Regions from separate parts of the Homo sapiens genome. Here region 1 is linked to region 2. The links are contacts of gene promoters, found by promoter capture Hi-C in blood cells and fetal thymus (Javierre and others, 2016). All regions are on one chromosome and are shown on one strand. Each heading gives the region's core, a stretch centred on a gene start or on the middle of the fragment in contact. The rest is flanking DNA. Distances are from core to core; before and after follow the strand shown. Region 1 overlaps LOC100131626 (a long non-coding RNA gene). Region 2 holds the start of BUD13 (BUD13 spliceosome associated protein).

Region 1 (6,807 bases), core at 859-3,358, 1.6 Mb after region 2:
TAATGTGATTGTTTTTAACGCCACGGTCACACCAGAAGGTCCTCAAAATAAACATTTACTACTCACTTCACTGCAACTTCCTCCTGCTTTGCCATACACAACACCTCTGGTCTCCCCTGTGGCTAATAGTGCATGTACGGAATTTTCTTAGGTTAAAATAGCAGTGAGCTCCTTGAAGTGGCCACTTGACTTCACCAGGCTTGTTTCTCTTTTTTTTTTTTTTTTTTTTTGTCCTCATCAACCCCAAATATCTTCTAACAGAACTGTTGAGGCTTTCAATGAATGTGTGCTGCCAAGTGTTTGGCATTGGCAAACTCGGTGTTTATTGTGCACCTCCTAAGTTCTAGGCACAATTAAAATGGCAGAAACATTCATGAACAAGACTGTTACCTGTTTCACAGAGTTTGATCTGGTAAGACAGGTAATTAGGCATGCAATTACTGTAATAAGATGTGAGAAGTACTATAATGAGGGAAGGGGAAGGTATACTTGAAAGGCTAACCCAGGGCAGGGTGCAGTGGCTCACACCTGTAATCCCAGCACTTTGGGAGGCCAAGGCGGGCAGATCATGAGGTCAGGAGTTTGAGACCAGCCTGGCCAATATAGTGAAACCCTGTCTCTACTAAAAACACAAAAATTAGCCAGGCGTGGTGGCACACACCTGTAGTCCCAGCTACTCGGGAGGCTGAGGCAGTAGAATCACTTGAACCTGGGAGGTGGAGGTTGCAGTGAGCCGAGATCACACCACTGCACTCCAGCCTGGGCGACAGAGGGAGACTCTGTCTCAAAAAAAAAAAAAAGAAAAAAGAAAAGCTAACCCAGACGAGAAGGACGTTCAAGGGAGGTTGTCAGAGAAAATAGTAGCTATATAAACAAGGAAAGTACATTAGCCAAGAAGAATGGAGCAAGGTATGCTGGCCAAGTGAAACAACCTGTGCAAAAGCTACTGTCAGAAAAAGTGTAGTACATTGAGGGTCTGAGAGTGTAAGTGTGGCCAAATTGCCAGGCAGAGGAGAGCACTGAGAGGTAAAGCCAGAGATGGTGGGGACCAGATTGTATTTTATGCCTGTTAAGGCTTGGACTTCTTTAAGGACATTGAATAGAAAGCCATTGAAAGATTTTGACAAGGCACAGTCCTGCCCTGAAGTAACTTGGGTAGTCTAACATCAGCAGGTAATTTCAATTCCATGTAACAAAAGCCAGAATAGAAACCTGCAAACTTGCATAGGGTTCATATAACAGTGCATGTGGTCCTACAATTTTCTCAGTATGTAAAAGTAGAAGTACTCATTTAGTAGTAGGCATCACGAGGAGAGAGAACATAATGGTTAAGTCAAAGCCAGTTATGCAAATATTTGTCACTGTGGTCCAAAGGTTTATTCCTAAGGAAACTGCTATCTATATATAAGTAAATGAGGCTTTTTGTTGAGGCTTTCATCATTTCAAAACTAATGTGGCCAAGTGCGGTGGCTCACGCCTATAATCCCAGCACTTTGGGAGGCCGAGGTGGGCGGATCACGAGGTCAAGAGATCAAGACCATCCTGGCCAACATGGTGAAACCCCATCTCTAATAAGAATACAAAAATTAGCTGGGCGTGGTGGCACATGCCTGTAGTCCCAGCTACTTGGGAGGCTGAGGCAGGAGAATCGCTTGAATCCAGGAGGCAGAGGTTGCAGTGAGCCGAGATGGCACCACTGCACTCCAGCCTGGCACAGAGCGAGACTCCGTCTCAAAAAAAAAAAAAAGCTAATGTGAGGCCGGGTGCGGTGGCTCACACCTGTAATCCCAGCACTTTGAGAGGCCAAGGCTGGCGGATCACCTGAGGTCAGGAGTTGGAGACCAGCCTGACCAACATAGTGAAACCCCATCTCTTCTAAAAATACAAAATTAGTCGGGCGTCGTGGCACATGCCTGTAATCCCAGCTACTTGGGAAGCTGAGGCAGGAGAATCTCTTGAACCTGGGAGGCGGAGGTTGCAGTGAGCCAAGATCATGCCATTGCACTCCAGCCTGGGCAACAAGAGCGAAACTTGGTCTCAAAAAAAAAAAAAAAAAAAAAAACTAATGTGAAACTGTCCACATTGCATATTCCATCCTTTTTTTTTTTTTTTTTTGAGACGGAGTCTCACTCTGTCGCCAGGCTGGAGTGCAGTGGTGCCATCTCGGCTCACTGTAACCTCTACCTCCTGGGTTCAAGAGATTCTCTTGCCTCAGCCTCCCAAGTAGCTGGGACTACAGGCGCGCACCAGCATGTCCAGCTCATTTTTTGTATTTTTAGTAGAGTCAGGGTTTCACCATGTTGGCCAGGATGGTCTCGATCTCTTGACCTCGTGATCTGCCCGCCTCAGCCTCCCGAAGTGCTGGAATTACAGGAGTGAGCCACCACGCCCGGCCTCATCCTTTGTTTTATACATCTCAGCATTGTTCTTAGATTAACAGTTTCTCCTCTTTTCCATTCATCTCTTACATACCTAAGTATTCTACCCTGATTTCTAAGGATAGCTCAATACTTTCTTTTTAAATATTTCATATTTGTATAACACTTTACCTTTTCAAAGCACTTGCACCAACTATCTCATTTAGCCCTCAACTTTCCTCTGAAGCACGTGCCATAAATGATATACCATTTAACAAGAGAGGAACTGAGCAGAAAACATAAAACAATTTGGCTAGGATCCCAAGAGCAATAAGTGGTGGCAGCATAAGCTGGGCCCAGGTCATGATCCTGTGTTGTAGTCTGTGCCCTGACTCTACCTGTGACCAGCTTGTGGATCCTGCTTTGTATTTCCACAGTTCCATTCTGTATTATATATTCTTGGTCCTGCTTTGCCCTACTATTAAGTTATTTAAGATTTCTTGTCTCATTAGATATCAACCTCCCTAATCTTATGTAAAGTGATAGGTAGTTTAGTAGGACTTACTATTTCCTAATTAGTGTGGTTTTTGTTTCTACTAGGACATAAGATTGTGATCACCCTTGTGATGAATTCAGTAACAGTTCCACCAGAGGTAATCCCTTAGCAGGGAACTTACACTAGACCTGTTTACCAAACAAAAGGCCCTGATATAATAAAATACTAACATGCAAAGCCCTTGGCAATCTCCCTTCTGCCTCATCTTAATCTCACTTAGCTGCCAACCATTGTTTCAGCCACCATTTCTAACCAATCCCCATAAAACCTAGCTTTAAATATCATGTTATTAGAGTGTGTATCCACTGTCCCTGATTGTTGCAATTTTCCACTAATCAGTTCATTCCCCTTTCTTTCTTTTTGTCTTTTGAGACAGGGTCTCGCTCTGTCGCCTGGGCTGGAGTATAGTGGCATGATCACAGCTTACTGCAGTCTCAACCTCCCAGGCTCAATCAAGATCCTCCCATCTCAGCTTCCCAAATAGCTGGAACTACAGGCGCATGCCACCACACACGGCTATTTTTTTGTAGAGACAGGGTAGCCACATTGCCCAAGCTGGTCTCAAACTCCTAGGCTGAAAGAATCCCCCACCTTGGCCTCCCAAAGTGCTGGGATTACAAGCGTGAGCCACCGCAGCTGGTCCCCTTTATTTCTTGCCAATTTTGTGTCCTGGCTCACTGTCACTTTATAACACTACTTCTATCTTAATTCTTGACAATTGCAATTTCAACATACACATGGGTCAGTAGTTTCCAAAGTACAGTCCCTGGACCACAGCAGCATCAGCATCACCAGGGAATTTAGAAATGAAAATTACCAGGCTCTACCCCAGAAACTAGGAGTGAGATCTTGCAATCTGTATTTTTTTTGTTGTGTTGTTTTGCATTTTTTTAGAGATGGTCTCACTGTGTTACCTGGACTGGTCTCAAACCCCTGAGCTCAAGCAATCTTCTTCCCTCAGCCTCCCAAGTAGCTAGGACTACAGGCATACGTCATTGCACCTAGCACAATCTGTGTTTTAATTATCTTTCCATATATAAGTCTAATGCATGCTAAAGTTTGAGAACTATTAACATAAATGATCCTTCAACCAACCTGGCCTTTTGATTCCCTAAAAACTTAACAGTTAATACCTTTCACCTTCCTTAAATACTGATTCCCATCTTTTTACCAAAAACATCAACCATCTTAGTTTCAATTTCATGCATCCCTCTCTCTGACCACCTATGACCTTCCTAGCCCATTCTGTCAAATAACTACACAAATTCAGAGTTTTCATGACCATCAATAAATTGATCCTACCATCTCCCTCACCCCCTTGATTTCAGCTTTTCTCTCCTGTTACAACTTAGGTTCCATGATCAATCATAAGCATTCTCTTGAATACACCTTCAACTTCCTTGCCTCTCACTCACTTCGTTGTACTCACTTACCAAAACCACCTCCTTGGCTTAATTCAGCTGTCTACCTGCTCTGCACCTATGCAGCCAAATGAAGTTGGAGAAAACAAAGTAACTAGTCTGGCCAGGTGCAGTGGCTCACGCCTGTAATCCCAACACTTTGGGTGGATCCCTTGAGGCCAGGAGTTTGAGACCAGCCTGGCCAACATGGTGAAACCCGCTCTCTACTAAAAATACAAAATTTAGCTGAGCATGGTGGCACGCACCTGTAGTCCCAGCTACTTGGGAGGCTGAGGCATAAGAATCGCTTGAACCTGGGAGGCAGAGGTTGCAATTAGCCGAGATTGCACCACTACACTCCTTCCTGTTTTGGCGACACAGCGAGACTCTGTCTCAAAAAAAAAAAAAAAAAAAGTAGTCTCACTTTATATTCATGATGGTCAGAACCTTAAGAGAGCACTTAATACTACCAGCCAATCATATTATGTTTCTTCAGACCGCAATTACATCCTTCAACAGACGACCTTACTTCCTACTTGACTGAGAAAATTTAAGCAATTGGAGAACTTCCAGTTACTCCCACAACATCATTATCTCATCTTACCATATCTCCACCTATATATATACACCACCTTGCCTGTACTATATGGTTCGTATCACATGCTGCAAGCACACAGAAGTCACTCAATGCAAATGTGATGAATAAAGTGAATGTATCCATTAATTAATCTATATAAATGTTTTCCCCTCTGCCTTCATTCCTGGCACTTTCTACCTAGCACATCCACTTTCAAAACCACTTCATCACCTTTTCAGAGAAGTTTTTTTCTGATTTTCCCGAATTGCTTCCCTTTACCCTCCTGTCGATGCTTCTTGTAGCACACATCATTGCACTCTAATGCTATATTTACATTTATTTCCTTACTAAACTGTAAGCTTCTTAAGGGAGATACTGTATCTAATACACTGTTGTAATACTATCCCATCATGTAATCTGGCTTCTGTGTTTTTGGGTTTGTTGAAAACAGTGAAACAGCAGACTCATCCTACTGTGTTTGGTACTGGGTTGATAAACAGCAGAGTTTAGTGGCAATTTGCCACAGAGGGAGATGCAGGCCTGGAGGACTTACTTCCTGAAGGCCTGCAGGCTGAGACTGCTACAGAGCTGATGCCAGCTGAGTCACTCTTGCATCTCAACCTCCAACTCTGAAACAGAGATGTGGATCTCTGATTAGCCTTCTCTACTGTGCTAGCTAATGCAAAGCTACCTTTGCATATGTAAGGTCTAGCAGGGGAGAACCAGGAGGTAGGCAGCAGAAGATCCTTTATAAAAGACCAAGCCTGAAATCTGAAAATCCCTGAAATTCCTTAGAAATTGATCATCTTAACTCTTTCTTTGCCAAGCCCGCATTTCCTGATTTATATCCTTGTTACAGCTGAAAGAAGCTCATCATGTAAAGGTTTATAGCACCACCATTTTCCTCAGAGGATTTTACATATGCAACCTATGGATGGATTTTTATAAGAACTATACCTTGGACTTCTTGCATGAAGTTAGGAAGGTTATCTTCAGAGGCTCCAAGTTTTAATGCATTCCAGTGTTGTCAAATCCAAAAGCAATTAAATACTGTTGTGTGGTTTTGAATTATAGCCTGCTTGTTAAAATAGCTACTGTTTCCCCTAAGGACAGCCTGCATTTTTACCTGATGTCATCTGACTCTGGGTCTCAAGAGAGTGGGGAACCTAATAGAACAACTGAATAAATGTAGTTCTAAGACAGTGAATTATAAGGTGATGGTGGAAGAGTGGTTACCAATTTTAGTGACCTCCAGGTAGAACAATGGAAAGGAAGTCATGTAAGCCCCAGATTGGGGAAAAAATGAAAGTAATAATGACCAAGTAAACATTAAGTCAGGGGTGATGTGGAAGACAGTGTGGCGATTCCTCAAAGACCTAGAACCAGAAATACCATTGGAACCAGCAGTCCTAGTACTGGGTATATACCCAAAGGAATATAAATCATTCTATTCTATTCTATTCTATAGAATATGAATCATTCTAACATAAATCATTCTGTTATATCATTATAAATTATATAAATCATTCTATTATACAATGATGTGTGCTACAAGAAGCATCAACAGGAGGGTAAAGGGAAGCAGTTTGGGAAAATCAGAAAAAAACTTCTCCAAAAAGGTGATTAAGTTGTTTTGAAAGTGGATGTACTAGGTACATATAAAGATACATACATATTGCAGCACTATTCACAATAGCAAAGACATGGAATCAACCCAAATGCCCATCAGTGATAGACTGGATAAAGAAAATGTGGTACATATACACCATGGAATACTATGCAGCCATAAAAAAGAATGAGATCATGTCCTTTGCAGGGTTGGGGATGGAGCTGGAAGCCATTATCCTCAGCAAACTAACACAGGAACAGAAAATCAAACACCACATGTTCTCACTTACAAGTGAGGGTGAACAATGT
Region 2 (6,184 bases), core at 3,676-6,175:
CCTCTAGTGGGAGTGTAAATTGGTAGCACCTTTTGGAAAGCAACATGGGAATATAACTAAAGCGAACCATACCCTTTGATCCACTCATTTCATTTTATGGGAATAAAGAAATAAACTGATTTCTACAAATGATTTATGTACAACGATGTATGATATTTTATAAGTGGAAACAATCCATGTATCCAGTAACAGAACAGATAAAATATATATATTGAACTACTACATAACCGTTAAAAATCATACACTCAAAGAATATTTTAAGGTCTTACCAGAGTATCCACAACATATTATTTAGCAGAGGAGTAGACTCCAAAACCCTATGTACAATATGATCCCAATTATGTTCAAAAAAATAAAATACAAGCGTGTATAATCTCTAAAGAGAAAAACCTGAAGAGATATGCATCCAAGTATTAGCAGTTATCTTTGGATGGTAACATGCAAGTGTTTATTCTTTTAAAAACTTTAAACTTTTTTTAATTCCCAAATATTCTGTAATAAATATGCATTGCTTTTATAAAATTAAAAAAAAACAACAAACATTGTTAATATTTACTTCTTCTGACCAAAACTAAATTGGCTCCCTAAGATCACTATTTCCCTTCTAATTACTAGCAAGCCCTCTTTTAAATAATCTATTTTAGAATTTTGCTGGGAATTGGCCAGGTGCAGTGGCTCACACATGTAATCCCAGCCCTTCAGGAGGCCGAGGTGGGCGGATCACGAGGTCAGGAGATCAAGACCAACCTGGCTAACATGATGAAACCCTGTCTCTACTAAAAATACAAAAAAAAACACAAAAAATTAGCCGGGCGTGTTGGTGGGCCCCTGTAGTCCCAGCTACTCAGGAGGCTGAGGCAGGAGAATGGTGTGAACCCAGGAGGCAGAGCTTGCAGTGAGCCGAGATCATACCACTACACTCAAGCCTGGGCAACACGGTGAGACTCCGTCTCAAAAAAAAAAAAAAAAAAAGAATTTTGCTGGGAATTAATATTAAATACTCACTGGAATCCATCTTTACCAACTTTAGTGGAATTCAGCCTATCTACAGCTCTCCTTTCCACTTTGTTTCTCAGAAATTCTCAGCAATGGTTTCATGAACCACTGGGAGGTCATTTGCCTATGATTTTGTCCACCTGGCTCTTACTTACCCTTCAAAACTCAGTATTTACATCTTTCAGGATATCTCCCAACAGAATACAAAGTATGCTACCTCCCCGGGCTCTAATGGTACTTGGTACGTATGTGAAACATCCCCAACATTTACCATACTGTTGAAATTTATCTGAAATTCAGTTTTTCATTCTAGGGTATAATCTCTAAAATACAGCTATGTTCTATTAATCTACATATCTCCAGTACTTAGGCAAGAATATACAATTTGAAAGCTTAGTTAAAGCACTGAAAAAAGGAGCAAATAAAAAGTTCCCTATAACTGAACCTCAGCATTGTTTTTAAGAAAGATTCCAACAAAATGAACCACAGCTAAGTCTCATCATTACTCTAACACTGATGTCGAGAAGTCCTCTCTCTGTGATCCATCTCATTTCTAGGCTGATGGACCCTCCATAAAGAGACAAGTTGGTGTATAGGCATCAGCAAAGAAAACTATTTTAAACAGCTCTTTGGAAACTGTCACCTCTTTTCTGTTCTCAACTAACCCCCCTACAAATCTACCCTAAGCTGGAAAAATAAATTTGAGAAGCTTGGCCTGGCACAATGGCTCACGCCTGTAATCCCAGCACTTTGGGAGGCCAAGGTGGGTGGATCACCTGAGGTCATGAGTTCAAGACCAGCCTGGCCAACATGGTGAAACCCCATTTCTACAAAAATTAAAAAAAAAAAATTAGCCAGGCATGATGGCGGGTGCCTGTAATCCCAGCTACTCAGGAGGCTGAGGCAGGAGAATCATCTGAACCCGGGAGGCGGAGGTTGCAGTGAGCCAAGATCATGCCATTGCACTCCAGCTTGGGTGACAGAGCGAGACTCCGTCTCAAAAAAAAAAAAAAAAAGGAAATTGAGAAGCTTGCTTCATTTCAAAATCCTGACAGCCCCAAAGATACATACCACAGGCAAATCTCCATCATCTTCCTCTTCCTCCTTTTCTAGTTTGGTTGTGGAGATAGCTGTCCAGCTCACATCATCATCCACAATCCGCATTCTAAATGAGAATAAGAAGATCAAAAAGAGTCATTCTAGGATACCAGCATAAAAACATTTATCTATTGGTTTTAAAATAAAGTTCAAAATCCTACAGGATCCTGCATGGTCCAGTCTTTGTCTACAAGGTCAACTTCATCTCCTACTGCTACTTCCTTGGTTGAACACCTCCCTGGTCATCCTTTGGTGCTTAGAAAGGAGCCAAGTTCCTATCACATCAGTTTTCACATATGCAGTTCCTTCCCTCTGCCTGATCTACTCTTTTCAATCTTTTTCTTTTTTTTTTTTTTTGAGACGGAGTCTCGCTCTGTTGCCCAGGCTGGAGTGCAGTGGCACGATCTCAGCTCACTGCAAGCTCTGCCTCCCGGGTTCACACCATTCTCCTGCCTCAGCCTCCTGAGTAGCTGGGACTACAGGCGACCACTGCCACGCCTGGCTAATTTTTTGTATTTTTAGTAGAGACGGGGTTTCACCGTGTTAGTCAGGATGGTCTCGATCTCCTGACCTCGTGATCCGCCCGCCTTGGCCTCCCAAAGTGCTGGGATTATAGGCGTGAGCCACCGCGCCCGGCCCTAGTCTTTTTCTTTTTTGAGACAGGGTCTCACACTGCTGCCCAGGCTGGAGTGCAGGGACACCATCATGGCTCCCTGCAGCCTTGACTTCCCGGGGTTAAGTTATTCTCCCTACTCAGTCTCCCAAGTAGCTGGGACTACAGGCATGTGCCACTGTGCCTGACTACTTTTTTGTATTTTTTGTAGAAACAGGGTTTCACCATGTTGCCCAGACTGGTCTCAAACTCCTAGATGCAAGCAATCCACCCGCCTTGGCCTCCCAAAGTGCTAGGAAACTCTTTCTCATTCCAGGAAACTCTTCCTCATTCTTCAGGTCCTAACACAAATTTAACTTCCTTTGGCAAACTTTTCTTGACTGCTTCACCCAATTCCCTCACCATCCCACACTCACTCAAGACTAAGAACCCTTGTTAAAAACTCTTGGAATACTTTCATTGCATTTATCATAAAGAAAATATATCGATTAGTTGTGTAATTAGTTGCTTAAAGCCTGTATTCCCATTAATCTATAAGCTCCACAAGAACAGGGACTATGTTTTTTTTGTTCACAGAGGCATCCTCAACACCCTACAGTAACTGGAATACGAAATATTCAATAAATGTTTGTTACGTGGATAAACTATATAGCTGAGCCCAAATAATAACAATGACTGCCATGATGTGAAGTTATTCAAAAAGCCAGGGTCACTTAATGCAATCCCTCTAATCACAACCACCACTTAATAAAACCATTATTATTATTATTCTCATTTTAAAGATAAGGAAACTGCAGCTCAGTGAGATGAAACACCTTGCCCAAGGGTACACAGCCTATAAAGTGGCACAGCTAGGATTCGAACTCTGACCAGTGCTGCTCCAACACTCAAGCTACTTTCATCACATGGCACTGCCTCCAAAGGATCCACACAAGTCAGCGAGGCAGAAAGACGAAGACAATAATAAGGCAAGCACCAAACCAGAAAAGAACTTGGACTAGTTCTTTAGAACAATGTGACTTCACTGGGTATCTCAGTGCCTTAGGGTTACTGTAACAAAGTACCACAAATTGCGTGGCATAAAACAACAGAAACTCTCTCGCAGTTCTGGAAGCTAGCAATCTGAAATCCAGGTGTCTGCAAGGCCATCCTCCCTGGAAAGTCTCTAGCAGAGAATCTTTCCTTGCCTCTCCCAGCTTCTGGTAGCCCCAAGCATACCTTGGCTTTTGGCAACATAAATCCAATCCAATCTCAGCCTTCATCTAGACATGGTCGTTTTTCCTTTGTTGCTGTGTCTGTATCCATACTTCCCTCTTTTTAAAAGGCAAACAGTCATCTTGGATTTGGCACCCACCTTAATCAAGTATGACCTCATCTTAACTGATTACATCTCCAAAGACCCTATTTCTAAATGTCACATTCTGTGGTTCTGGGTGGAAAACGATTTGGTAGGGCCCACTACACTGGGCCACAAAGTTGTCCCATATGAAAATAATACCCACTTCATGGTAGTGTGGTGAGGCTTAAATAAACTTATATATGTTTAAATTTCTTATAATGGTGCCTGGCAAGAAAAGTATAACTATATAAATGTTAGCTTCTCACGTTAGGACTATTACTAAGAGTAACAGGAGGTGATCAAAGGTCTCTGATTCAGAACCAAGTCCTTGGGATCTGGGAATCCCCACAGGCAGGTACCGGGCCCTAAAGATCCAAGCACAGAGGCTTTGAATCCGCTCCATTATTCTCGAGGCACAATATTCATTCTCTATGGGAGAGGACGGAAGTCTACCAAGGCGGGAAAAGAGTAATCAAAGTTACACCCCGGCTTTAACGCACTGACGCTACTGCTCAGAGGCTCGAGATGTAAGCGGGGCGGCAGAGGCAAGGCGGGGGGCCTCAAGCGATGTGAGTGGGGCCCTGAGCATGAGCAGGGGTCGGCGGAGAAGCCGAGAGACCCGCCAAGAGGGAAGGAACTGCCGGGCGGCCGAGGGCGGAGTTGGGAAGGGGTGGCTAGACGTCGCAGGCCCCGCCCCGGCCGGTACCAACTCACCCCTTGCCGCCGGCCCCGCCAGGCTTCGGCCGCTTTTTGCGACGCTTGCGACCGGACTCAGATCCCCGGTCGACGCCGGCATCTGCCCCGGACAAGTAACGCTTCAGATACTCGGCCTTGGAAAGCGGCGGAGCTGCCGCCATGGCAGCGGCGGGGGCAGAGAGACGGGTCGGCGCTGGGGACAAAATGCCTCAACGCGTAACGGACGCCAGCCACCCGACAGGGCGGGGCCACGGCCGGAAGTGGCGGAGAGTGCTAAGAATCGCGCGGCTGGCAGGTGCGGCCACCGGGACGCGCTCGCAGGCTAGCCAGGGACGTGCGCACCTTCGGGGCGCTCCACAGCCCTGGGACGACGCCACCAGGTTTCTTCTCTTCATTCACTCACCCACCCACCCACCCATCCATCCAACCGCAGCAAGCGCTGTTCTATGAGGCCACAACCTGACCCAAAGGACCCCGCCCCCATCGGCCGCCTAAACTCCAGAGCACGAGCAAGAAAGTGGAGGGCCACGGGCTGCAGCGTAGCCGAGTTTGAATACTGGTTCCATAGCTGGCTAGCTGTACGACCTCGGGCAAGTTATCACAAAACAGGGAGAATCCCGGCACCTAACTCGGAACGGTCACAGGCTGAGATGATATTACTGTGTGAAGTGCGCAGAGCGGTGTTGGGCACATGGTCATCGGAACTATGTTCGTTATTTTTATAAGTATCTTTAAGTGGGGGGAATCTGCTCCACTAGGCTTCCAGGTACCTACCGTCCAAGAAAGGAAGCCAGGAAGTGCAAACCAACATAATTACTATGAAAAACGTAGTTTCTAAGACCTGTGTAACTCTTCTAGTGTTCTATTACAAGTAGCCCCCAGTTATCTCTTGAAGGAAACTGTAAAACAATCTTGCCAATGAGAAGGACGGACCTGGATCATTTTTTAGCATAGTAAAAGAGAGAAACCAGAGAGAATGAATTCTAACACTCAAGTTTTGGGGGGAAAGAAAAGACTTTATTCTTTGCAGGGGGTTTAGAGCTTTACCTGAATTATCTCATTTAACCCTCACAATTCTCAAATCGTTTCATTATCATATTTTACAGATAAGAACTGAAGCGTGGCAAGATTAAGGAAGTTGCTCAACTTCACATAGTCAGAACATGACTCTAGGGAGTAGAGGCTAGCGAAGTGGGGTGCAAGAGGTCATCCAAATTTCTTGAAATACCAGATCTTTTTACCTCATCATATATGTTAGATTGTCAGTTTTATCGTTTTCTTCCCAGCTTTATTATTTGACAAAAAATTATATATATTCAAGGTGTACAATGTGATGACTGGATATAATTATACATTGTGTAATGATTACCAAAATCAAATTAAGTAAAACATCCTTCACTAATTTATGTAGTAGTTCGGTGGGGGGGCACTTAAGCAAATTT

What was found. Contacts are between HindIII fragments. The CHiCAGO score rates a contact against its expected background, and 5 or more counts as called.
Region 1: a fragment that was not itself captured here is called in contact with the fragment with the promoter of BUD13 in region 2 in 1 of 17 cell types (monocytes); the score reaches 6.3 in monocytes.

The regions. Positions count from the first base shown.
Region 1 is chr11:118,410,425-118,417,231 of GRCh38, forward strand. The region is part of intron 3 of LOC100131626 (a long non-coding RNA gene); the gene reads right to left. Among named protein-coding and RNA genes, the nearest start is that of ATP5MG, 12 kb to the left of the region's middle. The HindIII fragment of the contact is 6,277 bases long and covers 1-5,247 here.
Region 2 is chr11:116,768,062-116,774,245 of GRCh38, forward strand. It overlaps BUD13 (BUD13 spliceosome associated protein), which reads right to left and starts at 4,926. Exons shown (of 10, transcript NM_032725.4): 1 at 4,761-4,926; 2 at 2,068-2,161. The coding sequence starts at 4,903. ZPR1 (ZPR1 zinc finger) reads right to left here. Exons shown (of 14, transcript NM_003904.5): 14 at 5,738-6,184. It overlaps BUD13-DT (BUD13 divergent transcript), which reads left to right and starts at 5,410. Exons shown (of 2, transcript NR_186226.1): 1 at 5,410-5,450; 2 at 5,849-6,144. RefSeq lists a silencer at 5,065-5,264 and an enhancer at 5,385-5,474. The HindIII fragment of the contact is 6,866 bases long and covers 2,024-6,184 here.